Linked DNA regions of Homo sapiens: all the other regions are linked to region 2. Evidence: promoter capture Hi-C in human tissues and cell types (Jung and others, 2019). All regions are on one chromosome and are shown on one strand. Each heading gives the region's core, a stretch centred on a gene start or on the middle of the fragment in contact. The rest is flanking DNA. Distances are from core to core; before and after follow the strand shown. Region 1 has its middle 13 kb from the start of IL1R1. Region 2 holds the start of IL1RL2 (interleukin 1 receptor like 2). Region 3 has its middle 61 kb from the start of IL1RL1.

Region 1 (4,270 bases), core at 444-2,943, 57 kb after region 2:
GTTTCTTGGTAGGCGTATTTTTTCCCTCAGGCTTCTAAGATTTTTTCTTTATCGCTGATTTTAAGAAATTTAATTATGATGAAATGATGTGTTTGTCCTCAAGTTTCTTAAGGTTCACTGAACTTCTTGGGTATGTGGGTTTGTAATTTTCAGTTCAGCTTGGAGAACTCCTGGCCATTATTTCTTCAAATATTTTTCCTGTCACTCCCTTTTTCCCTTGAGTGACTCCAATTACATGTGTATTTGGTGACTTGAAATTTTCCCACCGTTTCGTGATGCTCTGTTCTTTACTTGTTTGTTTTTCCTCCTCTGTGGTTTTTTTTTATAGTTTCTATTGTTATGTCTTTCGATTCACTGATCTATTCTTCTGCAATATCTAATCTGCTATTAATCTCATCCAGTCATTTTTTTTACCTCAGAAATTGTAGTTGTTATCTCTAGAAGTTAGACGCAGGCATTTTCACGTCTTTTGTTTCTCTACTTACCTCTGTGTTTATGGAATACAGTTATAAAAACTGTTTCCATGTCCTTGTCTGCTAATTCTAACATCTCTATTAGTTCTTGGTTGGTTTTGACTCATTTTCCTCTGCATTATTATCATCCTTATTTGCATACCTGGTAATTTTTTGGTTGAATGCCAAACATTGTGGATTTTAACTTGTTAGATGCTGAATATTTTTGTGTCTTAGGATGCATTTGAGTTATTGAGAATAGTTTGATTCTTTTGGATCTTGCTTTTAAGACTCGGCAGACAGGACCACAGCACCATTCACTCTAGGACTCATTTTATCCCACTTCTGAAGCTTGATGCTTCTGAGTCCTCTAACAAATCCCTATGAATTACGAGACTTTCCAGTCTGGCTGGTGAGAATAGGAATTATTCCTCCTCCTGTCCACTATTTCATCTAATCTTTTAGGGAGGCGCTTTTTCTGACTTTGGGTAGTCTTCTCACTGACTCTGCCTGGGTCACGCTTCCCTGTGCCATGGCCTGGAAACTCTCACATCAGTAAGCAGGAGAAGTCACAGGGCTTTGTTTTCTGCCTCTCAGGGATCACTATCCTTCCTTAGCTGATGTCCAATTCTTAAAAACCCTGGTTTTGCATATTTTGTAGAGTAATTTAGTTGTTTCTTATGAGAAAGTAAATCTAGGGCCTATTACTCAATCCTGGCTGGCATCAGAAATCTACTGACACAGTTTCTGAAGTTCATCAGTGAAGATGCCTGAGATTCTTTACACATGCCCACCCCCACCCTGCAAATTCTTTTTTAAACTTTGGTTGAAAAAGTTTTTGATATCTTTATAAAACATAACCAAGAATTAATACATTTTAGTCAAAACCAAGACTTTGGGGGAAGGAAGTAAACTGTGAACAATGTCAGATAAAGGACAGCCTGGCAGCTGTCAGGCCCTAGAGGCAGAGAGAGAAGTTAAGAGGCACCAGCCTGGATGGAAAACCTCCCAAGCTTGTGCCACCAAGAGTGAAAAGGAAAGAACAGCTGTCAAGGAAAGAGGAAAGATAAGAGTGAGGGAGACAGCTAAAGATCAAATCTACTATTTCCAGGGTTGCCAAACCTAAGAATTTTGCAAGAAGAATCATTAGCAATTGTGATTGCTTGAACACAGGCACCAGGAGGAAGCTGAGAGGGAATACTGAGAATGTTCAAAAACATTATTACCAAGAAAAAGATACGTTATATTATCAGTTCTCAAAGGTTCCTGAGATCCTTTCAGAGTCTTCAAGGTCAAAACTACTTTCATAATAATTCAAACATGGTATGTGTCTTTTTCATACACACGTACAGTGGACTTTTCCAGAGACCGCATGATGCAGAACTTCTCCAACATTGAATGCAGAAGCAGATATGAGAACTTATCTGTATTCTGTTGAGCAATGCATTAAAGAGATTTCCAGAACAATGTAAACAAAGTAAAAAAAGGTAATTCTTTTTGATACTTTCGTTTTTTAAAAATAATTGTTTTTATAAAAGAGATTTATGTTAACAGGCAATGAGTTTATCGGCATTTTTAAATAATTGTTAAAAATTTATTTTTTTAATTTCTCAGTTTTCATGTCTAATGTGCTTAATATCAATAGAATTAACCAGGTAGACAGAAGCTCTTTAAAGTTCTGAGAGTTTTTAAGAGTACGAAGGTGTCTTTAGACCGAAAGTTCAAGAACGTCTGCTCTACATAAAGCTTCTGCAGCCCTCTGAGACCACTGTGTAGTTCATGAAAGTGTCTACATAGGAGCAAGAAGAAAGGGCAGGCCAAGAGGTCAGAAGAGAGGGGCACCCTCGTCAACAGCTGCTTCACCCCTGACCCCGATTTCAAAGCAATACTTCACAGCACAGCAGCCCCTGTCAGGTTCACCATAAGGACCTACATCCTAAGTCATCATTGAGATTTGAACTGCTCCTTTAGGGGGTACAAATCCTGCCCTGAATTCCCCAACATCACCAATTCCCTTTCCAATTTACTGCACCGCAGCTTTCTTAACTGGTCATCTGACCTATGCTCAATAATTGGCCCTTATGTAGGAATGAAATTTCTAGATTTCAAGCACCTATCGGGTTCCTGACCATGATTTAGACACTTTAATAGGACATCACATTTAATGCTTATAACCATGAATGGTTTACTACTTTTCTTTGGGAAGGAGTTCTTGTTTTGGTTTTGTTGTTGTTGTTGTTGTTGTTGTTGTTGTTGTTGTTGTAGGTTTTTGGGGTTTCATTGTTGATTTCTTTTGTTTGTTTGTTGTTGAGACAAGGTCTCACTCTGTCACCCAGGCTGGAGTGCAGTAGCACCATCTTGGCTCACTGCAGCCTCAATCTCCTGGGCTCAAGTATTCCTCTCACCTCAGCCTCCCAAGTAGCTGGGACTACAGGCCTGGACCACCACACCCAGCTTATTTATTGTTTACTTTTTTATTCTTTAGAGACAGGGTCTTGCTATGTGGCCCAAGCTGGGCACAAACTCTCAGCCTCAAGTGATCTTCCTGTATCAGCCTCCCAAAACTATGGGATTACAGGAGTGAGCCACCACACTGGCTACTACTCTTGTTTTGTAGACAGCAACAGACATCCTAGAGAAGTTAAGGAACTTGCCCAAGATTACCCAATGAGTAAAATAACTGAACCGGGATCCAACACACTCTCCAAAACTGATCGTTTTCCCCCTTCACATTGCTGCCTTTTACTGTTCTACCACTGACCACTGCCATTGTGTGTAAAGTTAAAAATCACCCTAAAACATGTAGGAGTTTGAGATTTGCTCTTTAGAACTAGAGGAAGTGCAGAATGATGGTTACTAGCATAGGCAATGGAGCCCAACTGCCCCAAATGTATCCCAGCTCTACAATATACTATCTGTGTGGCACTAAGCAAGTTACTTAACTTCTCTTATGCCTCAATTCCCTTGATGGCAAAATAATGTTATCAATAGTCCCCAGCTTATTGGGTTGTTGAGAGAATAAGTTAATACATAAAAAGTATTTAAACATAGTCAATGATAGAGATGATCATTACCTGCCAAACATTCATTATATTTGGGTATTTATATACTCAGCCTCTTTGAACGTATAAAATGAGCATGATATACCTATTCAGTAATACCATAGAGGTATTGAGAAAATTACTGAAAATTCGTGTACCTGACAGTATTTCTACTATGCAAATAAGCAAATGTTACTGGAGCTTCATTAGGCATAAACTCATAGTGTGATGTCATTTTGGAATAGGGAGTTTTCGGGTAAAGAGTAAGCTAGTATTTCTGGCTAACAGAGTATATACGAGTCACCACAGCTGATAAATTCCTCATTCCAAAAGCATCAACCAAAACCACATTTAAAAAGGAGGGTATTTCGACACAAATACTCAAGTCTAAAGTAACCAAGTGTAAAATGCATAGATAACTTGATCTCTGTGTGATAGGAGAGCAAACTCATTCAATATGTGAAGAACTGTCGAGAATTGAAATCTAAACACTCAAAGATAATAAAGAACTTAAAGGAAACAAAAGGTTGGAATGAGAAGTTTCATAAGATTCTTTACGTAAACTCAGAAATTTAATTATTGCCATGTGAAAGTGGTTTTGTTTCTCTTCATTTTTCATTGTTAAAAAGTTCTATCCAAACTTGAATCATTTCCTGTCCTGATAATTGCAGTATGGCTTTCTCATTCCTCCTACACTACTAACATCCAAATCACTATTGCCAAAGAGATTTTCCTCTCTTGTTGCCAAATAGGTATCCCAGATCATTGGATGTTGCA
Region 2 (4,359 bases), core at 540-3,039:
CTATTCTACGACCCTTAGTTCTTTTCATCCACAGAGTTCTTTACTCTGTACTCACCTACAGAGTAAATCAACCCTTCTTGTCTTTTCTGTTTCTGCTCTGCCACCCAGTTATTTTACTCTGTCTTGAGTAAAAGGTATTTCATCCCAAAACGATTGTTTAAGAAAAAAAATTTGGTTCACTTTTAAAGTTCATTTCTACCAAATTTCCTTTTTTTTTTTTTTTTGAGACGGAGTCTCTCTCTGTCGCCCAGGCTGGAGTGCAGAGGCTCAATCTCGGCTCACTGCAAGCTCCGCCTCCCGAGTTCACGCCATTCTCCTGCCTCAGCCTCTTGAGTAGCTGGGACTACAGGCGCCCGCCACCGCGCCCGGCTAATTTTTTTAATGTATTTTTAGTAGAGACGGGGTTTCACCGTGTTAGCCAGGATGGTCTAGATCTCCTGACCTCGTGATCCGCCCGCCTTGGCCTCCCAAAGTACTGGGATTACAGGCATGAGCCACTGCGCCCGGCCATACCAAATTTCTTAGAAGAAATTTGTTCTATTGACGGTTTCCTTGCTTTCACCTTGTGTCATAAAATAACGCTTTATCTTATAAAATAGCCTGTAGTAATTCCATTTGAGCATTGTTACTCAAGTCTTCACTTGGAATTTGCCTAACTCCTTCCCCTCCCCGAAGTCACCTCCAAGCTCAAAGGCGACATTCAGGGCTGAGCATCCGAGCACGTGGAGCTGGTTCTCTGTTTCCTCTTCCGCGGAACTCCGCCTGGCGGTCTGGGGAGGGGAAGGAGCCGCGCTCGGGCTGACGCGATCCCCGGGGGCTCCCAATGACAGGCCAGGAGCCTGTGGACTCGGGCAGCCTCTGGGAACGGAGGACACACGGAACGTACCTGCTGTGACAGACAGTGGAAGGGCGATGGACAACCCGCAGAGCAGCAAGGACCACATCCCCAAACCGGGCTGCAAGGAAGGGAGAAGAGGGTGGGAGGGGAGGACGCAGTAGGGCGGGCCCGAGGCGCCGGCGTGGGCGACCTCGGAATCTCAAAGACAACCGCCCAGGCCGCTGACCTTCCCTTTTTCCTGGGGAGCCCTCCGACTTTGGCCCCACGTTTCCCCAAAGACTGCCCTTCCCCTGTCTCCTTCGTCTGGGCGCCCGACCAGGATCCAGGGCAGGGAGCTCGCCCCGCCGCAGAGGAGGATGGGCGAGGAGTAGGCGGCGGCGGCGGTGGGGACCGCGTGGGAGCTGCTTCTGCCACCTGACAGCGAAGCAGGCTGGTGTCCAGAGCCCCCGTGAGGGCCAGGGCGCCCCCCAGCGCAGCCTGCGGCCTGGGTTCCAGACGTGGGACCCCAACCCCGCTCGCGGCGCACGGAGCCTCCCCTGCGCGCCTGTGTCCTCGGGATCCACCCGAGCCTGGCGGTCTAAACAGAAACCCCAAACACCCGCTCACTGGGGAGCAGCCAGGGCAGGCCTACCTGGCAAGGGCCAGCGGGAAAGGAGAAAGGAAGGCAGGGAGCCGCTGGAGCTGAAAATAGCCGCGAGCTCCACTCCTCGACCCAGAGACGGAGTCGGCTCCCCCATGGTCACCTAGCCGGTCGGGGGCCGGCCTGGGGGGCCTGATCCCTGGCCTGCGGTGGCACACATTGTTGCCACGTCTTTTCCTGCACACCTCTCCTACTGTCAGGGCCCCACCCATGCCTGGCTCAGCCAGACTCCCGGCCCGGTGTCTACCTGCCTGCAGGATTGAAGCGCGCAGGACCTCGTGGAGAGTGGAAAATATGACAGGGACACGAGCCCTGTCATGCCACTTCCATGCCTAGGTATTTCCCCGCCACCGTGGGCGGGGCAGACCTGCCTTCCCCAGTGGAGCGTAGGAAGGAATGTGACATCACACTAGGAAGTGGCTTGAAAGTCTTTGAGCCTGATTTTCTGGCATCTAAGTCCTTCATCACCAGGAGTGTCTGCTTAAGTCTATTCCAAGTTGAACGTCTAAATGAATTATTCATTCCTTTCCAAATCCTATTTGAGCAGTTACTGCATGCTCTGCATTGGCCTATGTGGAATGACCCCAAAGTGGAAGCCATCCCAAATGGCTTCTAAGGAGAATTATGAATCTGCCTGAGTCGTGCTCATTAACTTCTGTAAGGCAGGAATCCCATGGTGTTCAAGTACTTCAGAGCCTGAAGACTGTTCCTGTCTAAAACTTCCCGATAAGGTGATGTCAACAGGGACCTGTTGCCCTAGCCATCAGGAGACACCCCAGAGTCATCCCACAGGGCACTGAGTTGTAGGAAAAGGTTCAAAATGTAATCTCCATTCAATAGATTACTGGTCAAGCTCTTCCCAACGGTCTTTGAAAGATCAGAGACAGTGAGACAAAAGCAACCATAGGAGCAGAGATGCAATAATTGTGCTAATAGCAAAGCTTCCTGTGATAGGCTGAAGGTCAGTGGTTTGTAGATTTCTACACTCTTAAAAAGTATTGAGGATTCCAAAGTGCTTTTGTCTATGTAGGTTATGCCTGTCAATATTACTACATTAGAAGTTAAAGGGAGAATTTTTAAACGTTTACTTTCTTATTTAAGTGACAATAAACCCATTACATGTTAACGCAAATATCATACAATTTATGAAAAATAACTCTACTTTCTAAAACAGGCTTATTGAGAAAAGCGGCATTGTTCTACATAGATGCAGATCTCTTTGATGTCTGGCTTACTAGAAGATGACTGGATTCTCATACTTGCTTCTGCAATCAGTGTCATGATATAATATGTCATATAGCTTCTGAAAAGGTCCACCATACACTAATGAGAGAATGAGAATAAAAAAGGAATATAAGGTCTTAATATTACGATGAACATAGTTTTGATTTCACAGATCTTTTTGAAGGGTCTCTCAGGGACCCATAGGGCTCCCACTCTTTGAGGACCTCTTTCTTAAGCTATAAATAGAGATTATTATTTATTTCCCCTACTATCAGCAGTAAACGAGGTTCCTCTGTATATGTATATTCTTCAGCGTTTATGTCCTCATCCAAAACAAAACAAAAGTGTTACTATTTTTATAAAAGTCATATGATTTGCATTCAGAATTATTTCTATGAGCAGTGTTGAAAGGTATTTCTAAATCTTTATGCTATCTTTTTTCATTTTCACTTTATGAATAGATGCATTTGTGTCCTATCTTATTTCTTAGCCTGAGGACTAGTATATATGCCAAGTTTAATGGGTATTGTTGCCCCAAAATGTATGAAGTTAAGACAGGCCATCCCAGTCCCCTGCAGTGCCTCTCACTGGACACTTCTGACATTGCACTTTGCTACTAATTCTGAGAATCTGAAATTTAACTTCCTGGGATGGTCTCTATGCCAAATGTGTTTCCTGATACGTGGAAAATGAACACTTGGCTTTGAAGGCAGAACTGATTCCGGGTATTGTAAACTTAGCAATTAAAAATAACAGGAAACCATAATATTTACTGCAGGTTCTCAATTACCTTGAAAAAAAAAAACTTAAATGTATTCATCTCCTTCGAACATTTAAGTTTTTCCAAATTTATATTTTGCTCTTATAAACGGTGCTGCTGCAAAGATTCTGGTAATGTCCTTTTGTGCGAGTATTTCAGAGGCCATTTAGTGAACGGAATTGCAGAATCATTGGGTAGGTACATCCTCAATTGTATTAGAAAAGCCCTAATTTTTTTCCATAGCTATGTCCTTTAGAGGAAAAGAATTTCATTGCTTCATGTTCTTACCAATATTTGGTAATGTCAGACTTTTAAATTTTGCCAGTTTTGCTGCTCTGATGTAAAAGCTATCCTGTGATTTTATTTTATATACATTTAGATTGAGAGGTTATGCCCAGTTTTCAGAGGTGGCAGTTGTAAAGCCTCCATAACAGGGTGTATAATATGTAATAGATGCTTATCACCATCCCCCTACCAACCCCTCCTTGTCTAATTCTCTCCCACTTGCAGATATTTTTTCAATGGGAATATTCTTAATGTTTTCTAGCATTAGTCAGTGGCCATAGGAAATAATTTTCAGTTGGTTTTTTTTTTTATGAAGTAAATCAACTTCCTCTAGAGATTCATCACTTCATTCTGAGAGCAGGCAAAAAGCAACAAATCTGTGTGTGATGAAAGCATTACAGAATTCTGCTTGGTTGAATTTTACCTTCAGTCTATTTGACCCTCAGACTAGGATATGACGGCTATTCAGAAGGGTAGGAGGGCAACAATTTGGATTAAAGATTTCATATACAAATTTATATTTTACATGATGCATACTACCTTTTATTTGTTCTAACTAAATATCTGATTATTTCCCATTGGCCATATCCCACAGATAATGTTTCCCAATGA
Region 3 (4,240 bases), core at 392-2,891, 64 kb before region 2:
AATCATGTCCGTTGAATCAACATCATGGAGCTGGAGGCCATCATACTAAGTAAAATAACTCAGAAACAGAAAGTACAATACTGCATGTTCTCACTTAAAAGTGAGAGCTAAACAATGAGTACATATGAACATAAAGATGGAAGTAACAGACATTGGGGACTTCAAAATGGAGGAGGGTGGGATGGTAGTGAGGGATAAAAAATACCTATTGGGTACAATGTTCATATTTTGGTGATGGGTACCCTAGAAGCCAAATCCTCACCATTATGCAATATATCCATGTAACAAACATGCACATGTACCCAGGAATCTAAAATGAAATAAAATAAATATTTAAAGATTTAAAAAAAGTATTTTAAAGAGTAAAGCTTCAAACCAAGGAATACGGGGACCAAGGGTAAGCTAGGAAACGCCCAGGTCTGCTCTGACGCGCCCCCTGCAGGACCCCGTCCAGACATGCAGGAGAGGCAAGGCGCTGGTGCGCGCTTGGGGCATTTTGCCTTCCCTCCTACCTGCCCTCTCCTGACCCAAGTTCTAGCCCCACCTGCTTTGTCACCACCGCCAGCCTATGGAAGTTCCCTCTCTGGTCCTTCCTGTCCCATGGGTAAAATGGACCTAGCATGTCTAATTGCGCATGTTCCCGCAGTGATGTGAAGGACTGAAGGGCTTTGAACGCTGCGCTGTCTTAAGGGAAGGTGCCTGGGGCACTGACTTCGTCCCCTTTTCCCAGATCCTGCTCAGAGCCGCTCCCCCAGGCCCCCGGCCTCTAACTGTATCCTAGCCCTCTGATCAGCCTTTGCCTACTGAGGGCAAAACTACAGGGTACAAGAATAGGGGTTGCTATGTCCCCCCATTTCCTTTGTCTTCCATTTCCCCGTTCGCTCCTAAACCCTGAGACGGGGCCCTGTGCCAACTCGCGAGGGGCTCCCGGCTTCACGGGGGGCGCAGGTCACAAAGCACGTTCCGCCCTGGAACGCCCTGAGGAGATAAAAGCCGCGCAGGCCCCGCGCTCGCCGCGCACTCCGACCGTTCCGACGAGGGAGCTTTGCACTCGCTGAAAATGACTCGAAAGCTGCCCCGCCTCTCCGCCTCCCAACCCCGGCGCCCGCTCGGCGCCACCCCGCAGCTCCCTGGCAGTCGGCTCTTCTTTCCTCCCATCCGTCCCCCGTTTCTGGACCCGCAGACTACGCTCCTGTTCCAGCCCACCTACTCGTCCTTCTGCCCCATCTGCTACCCGTCTCTGAACCAATTCGTCCCCGTCCACTACCCCGTCTTGGGCATCGCCCTGCCGAGCTCTTCCTGCCTGAATCTTCATAAGATCTGCATCTGCCGCCCTCATGTCCGTTGGGGCCCCAACTTCCACTACGTCCCTCCCTATCCCCCCACGCCCCCGCCCAGCCCCTGCTTTTAGAAGCTGCCTACAGCCCGCCCCCGCCCAGCCACCCACGCGGCCCTGACGATCCACGACCCCACGGAGGGGCCCCTGCAGGCACCGTGCTCGGGCAGCGAAGGAGCGGACCCTAGGGTCCCCGCGGCCTGGCTGTGGACACGGGGACGCAGGACCACGGACACCCACCCTCGGCCTCCGCTGCCTGCTCAGCCAGCCGCGCCAGCCTCTGCATTTGGCAATGGCTTCCCCGTGGGCCTTGGTCTGGAACCACGGAGCAAACTGCAGGCCCGAGACAGAGAAGGGAGAGCACGAGGAAGCAGCGCCTCTGCTCGCTGGGAGAGAAACGACTGGCCAAGGTGAGGCCTAACCACATGCCCATGACCTCCGGGTCTGTCCCGTGACAGGAAGCCCTTTCCTGGAGGTGTCCACGGGCGGTTGGGGTAAGGGCTGGGTCGCCAGGAGCTGGGGCTGTGGGAGTGCTGTAGCCTGGAGACCGTGTGGGACACCGTTGCCTGGAGAAGGCAGAAGCCCGGGGCCAGGGAGAGAGGCACAAGGGAGCAGAGAGCGCATCGAACCCGATGGAGCAATGCCAAGGCCATGGCGGGACACCCCAGGGAGAAGGTGATCCAGGATGAGGTCCGTCAGAACCAGATCTTGCAGGAGCTGTACCTCAAAGGGCTACCAGCCCAGAACGTCTATGCGCGGTATCACGTGAACCCCTCCACGAGGTCCACAGATCACCAGGAAGCCCATGTCTTGGCATGGTAACCTGGAGGAGCCTGGAGACGCCAGGTTTCGGAATCTCATTCACCACGCTGCCCAGGGACCAAGGAAGAGGGACCCAGACACAGACCGAAAACCAGGAAAGTGCATGGGACTCAGTGCCCCCCCCTCAACCCAGAATGCCCAGATTGCAGGCTGAACCACTGCAGGGTCTGCAATGACATCGCTCTGTACAAGGCTCAGATGTGGAGCCTGGGAGGAGATGATGGCCACCAGTGGCATCCCAGCAGTGGACTGAGGCGCCGGATTTCATGCCTTAAGTGTGCACTGCCCCCAAAAATAAATTTTTTATGTTACTTTTGAGCCATTGTATAATTTATACCCAAACACACTTATGATAGGAACCCCAAACCTAGTATGGCTTTTTAATCTCTTTTCCAAGGAGAGAAACTTACATGATTTCATAGAAAAATTCACATTGCTACAGTGATATCAATCAGAAAGAAGTCTGCAGGAAAAGACTAACATATTGAGGCTTGTATTTGTTAGGATTATTTCCATTGTGAGAAACAGAAACCAAATTTAAGCAGAAATGAGAAATAGTTAACTCCTAAACTTCAGAGTTCCAAGGAATTCAGGCATGACAGGATCCAGGGACTCAAACAATGTCACAGATCTCTCTTGGTCTCTCTTTCCTTCTCTGATTCTGCTTATCTCTTGACTCTTCACTTTTGACATGATTCATTCTTGACGCTAACAAAATCTATCCTTGTGGAAGGAAAGACTGCTACCAGCAAAGCTATACCCACATTTCAGAGACAGAGTAGGAGAGGGAGCAAGAGAGAGACAATTTTTCCCACCTAATCCAGCTGAAAAGAATCTCCGAGGATTTAGGTTCATCTATCCTGTGTTGCAAAGCTGCCTACAAACTGTGCAAGCTGTACCATGTTAGGGTTGACCAAGCCTGGGCATGGACTCACAGGAGCCAAATGCACACAGGAAGCTTCCTAGTGGAATCAAAGGAAGGGTGAGAAAATGTACTGCTCATACCCAAAGTGTAGTCTATTACAAACTTACACATTCTCCGGGAATAAACTATAGAGTAGGAGGGAAACTGTCACTTAGGGGCACTATGGCTTATTGAATTTTGGAGTCAGCCAGCCCTGGGTTCAAATACTATGGAGTACTAGGGAAAGCGATCAAAACTCTCTAAAGCCTGATATATAGGAATGTGCAATATATACCTCAGAAGGTTCTTGTAAAGGCTTGTGCAGCCACTGCCTGGCACATACTAAATGCTCAACAAAACATGAATCCCTATAGTGGTCAGCAGCACCATTTCATGATGCCGAGTGTAGTTTGCTGTGACTTGTTTATATGTTTAGACAAAACACCTGCATTCATTCAAAGTTGTCCTTCCTTGTCCTTTTGTCCAAAGAACATTGTAACGTCATCCCCAGAGTGGTGCCCACTTATGCCTTCTTCCCACAGCAGCCCACACTAAATGTCAATTCTGTACTCCTTTCCTATAACAAAGCTTCCATTTTGTCTCCTTTCTATCTCAGCCATCAAATTGAAATGCAATCAAATAAATGTACCCTTGCAAGTGTGTGAATGAAGCTGTTGGAGACATTAATAAAATACTCTTGCTGATTGCATACATTAACTATTTTAAAATTTTAATTCTAGAAATGTATGTAGTAGTAGACTGGTCTCCCCCAGAGATGTTTTAGAGCAACACAGCTTTTCAGCATCTCTAAAATGTTACTGGGTAGGTAACTGCCTATATAGAAAGCCAGGTCTAACTGAGACACAGTATCAAGCAATAGGCATCAATTTTATTATTGTTGTCAATAATAAAAGTCTGTTATTGTCATTCAAGCCAATAGCAGGCTTTTATTTGGGACATAGAATCAATGGCCTTTGGTGTTTCAGATATAAGCTGTTCCCAAAAGCTTGAGCCCAGAATAAGGTAACAAAAGCATCCTACATTAAAGCTGGAAGTGAATAAGACTATGATAAACTCACAAGTAACCTTGTGAGACAATCTTAGAATCTGTTTTGTATGTTATATTTTGCTATATATAACTAATATAAATATTGTGCATATTATTCTGAAACTTTTTA

What was found. Contacts are between HindIII fragments. The study calls those that stand out against the background at their distance.
Region 1: a fragment that was not itself captured here is called in contact with the fragment with the promoter of IL1RL2 in region 2 in 1 of the 25 tissues and cell types used here (bladder).
Region 3: a fragment that was not itself captured here is called in contact with the fragment with the promoter of IL1RL2 in region 2 in 1 of the 25 tissues and cell types used here (bladder).

Annotation. Positions count from the first base shown.
Region 1 is chr2:102,127,702-102,131,971 of GRCh38, reverse strand. It overlaps a transcript of IL1R1 not described here. Among named protein-coding and RNA genes, the nearest start is that of IL1R1, 13 kb to the left of the region's middle. The HindIII fragment of the contact is 3,258 bases long and covers 65-3,322 here.
Region 2 is chr2:102,184,453-102,188,811 of GRCh38, reverse strand. It overlaps IL1RL2 (interleukin 1 receptor like 2), which reads right to left and starts at 1,789. Exons shown (of 12, transcript NM_003854.4): 1 at 1,726-1,789; 2 at 887-956. The coding sequence starts at 944. RefSeq lists an enhancer at 1,604-2,133. The HindIII fragment of the contact is 7,879 bases long and covers 1-4,359 here.
Region 3 is chr2:102,248,003-102,252,242 of GRCh38, reverse strand. It overlaps the pseudogene CFAP144P2. Among named protein-coding and RNA genes, the nearest start is that of IL1RL1, 61 kb to the left of the region's middle. RefSeq lists an enhancer at 987-1,580. The HindIII fragment of the contact is 3,485 bases long and covers 1-3,383 here.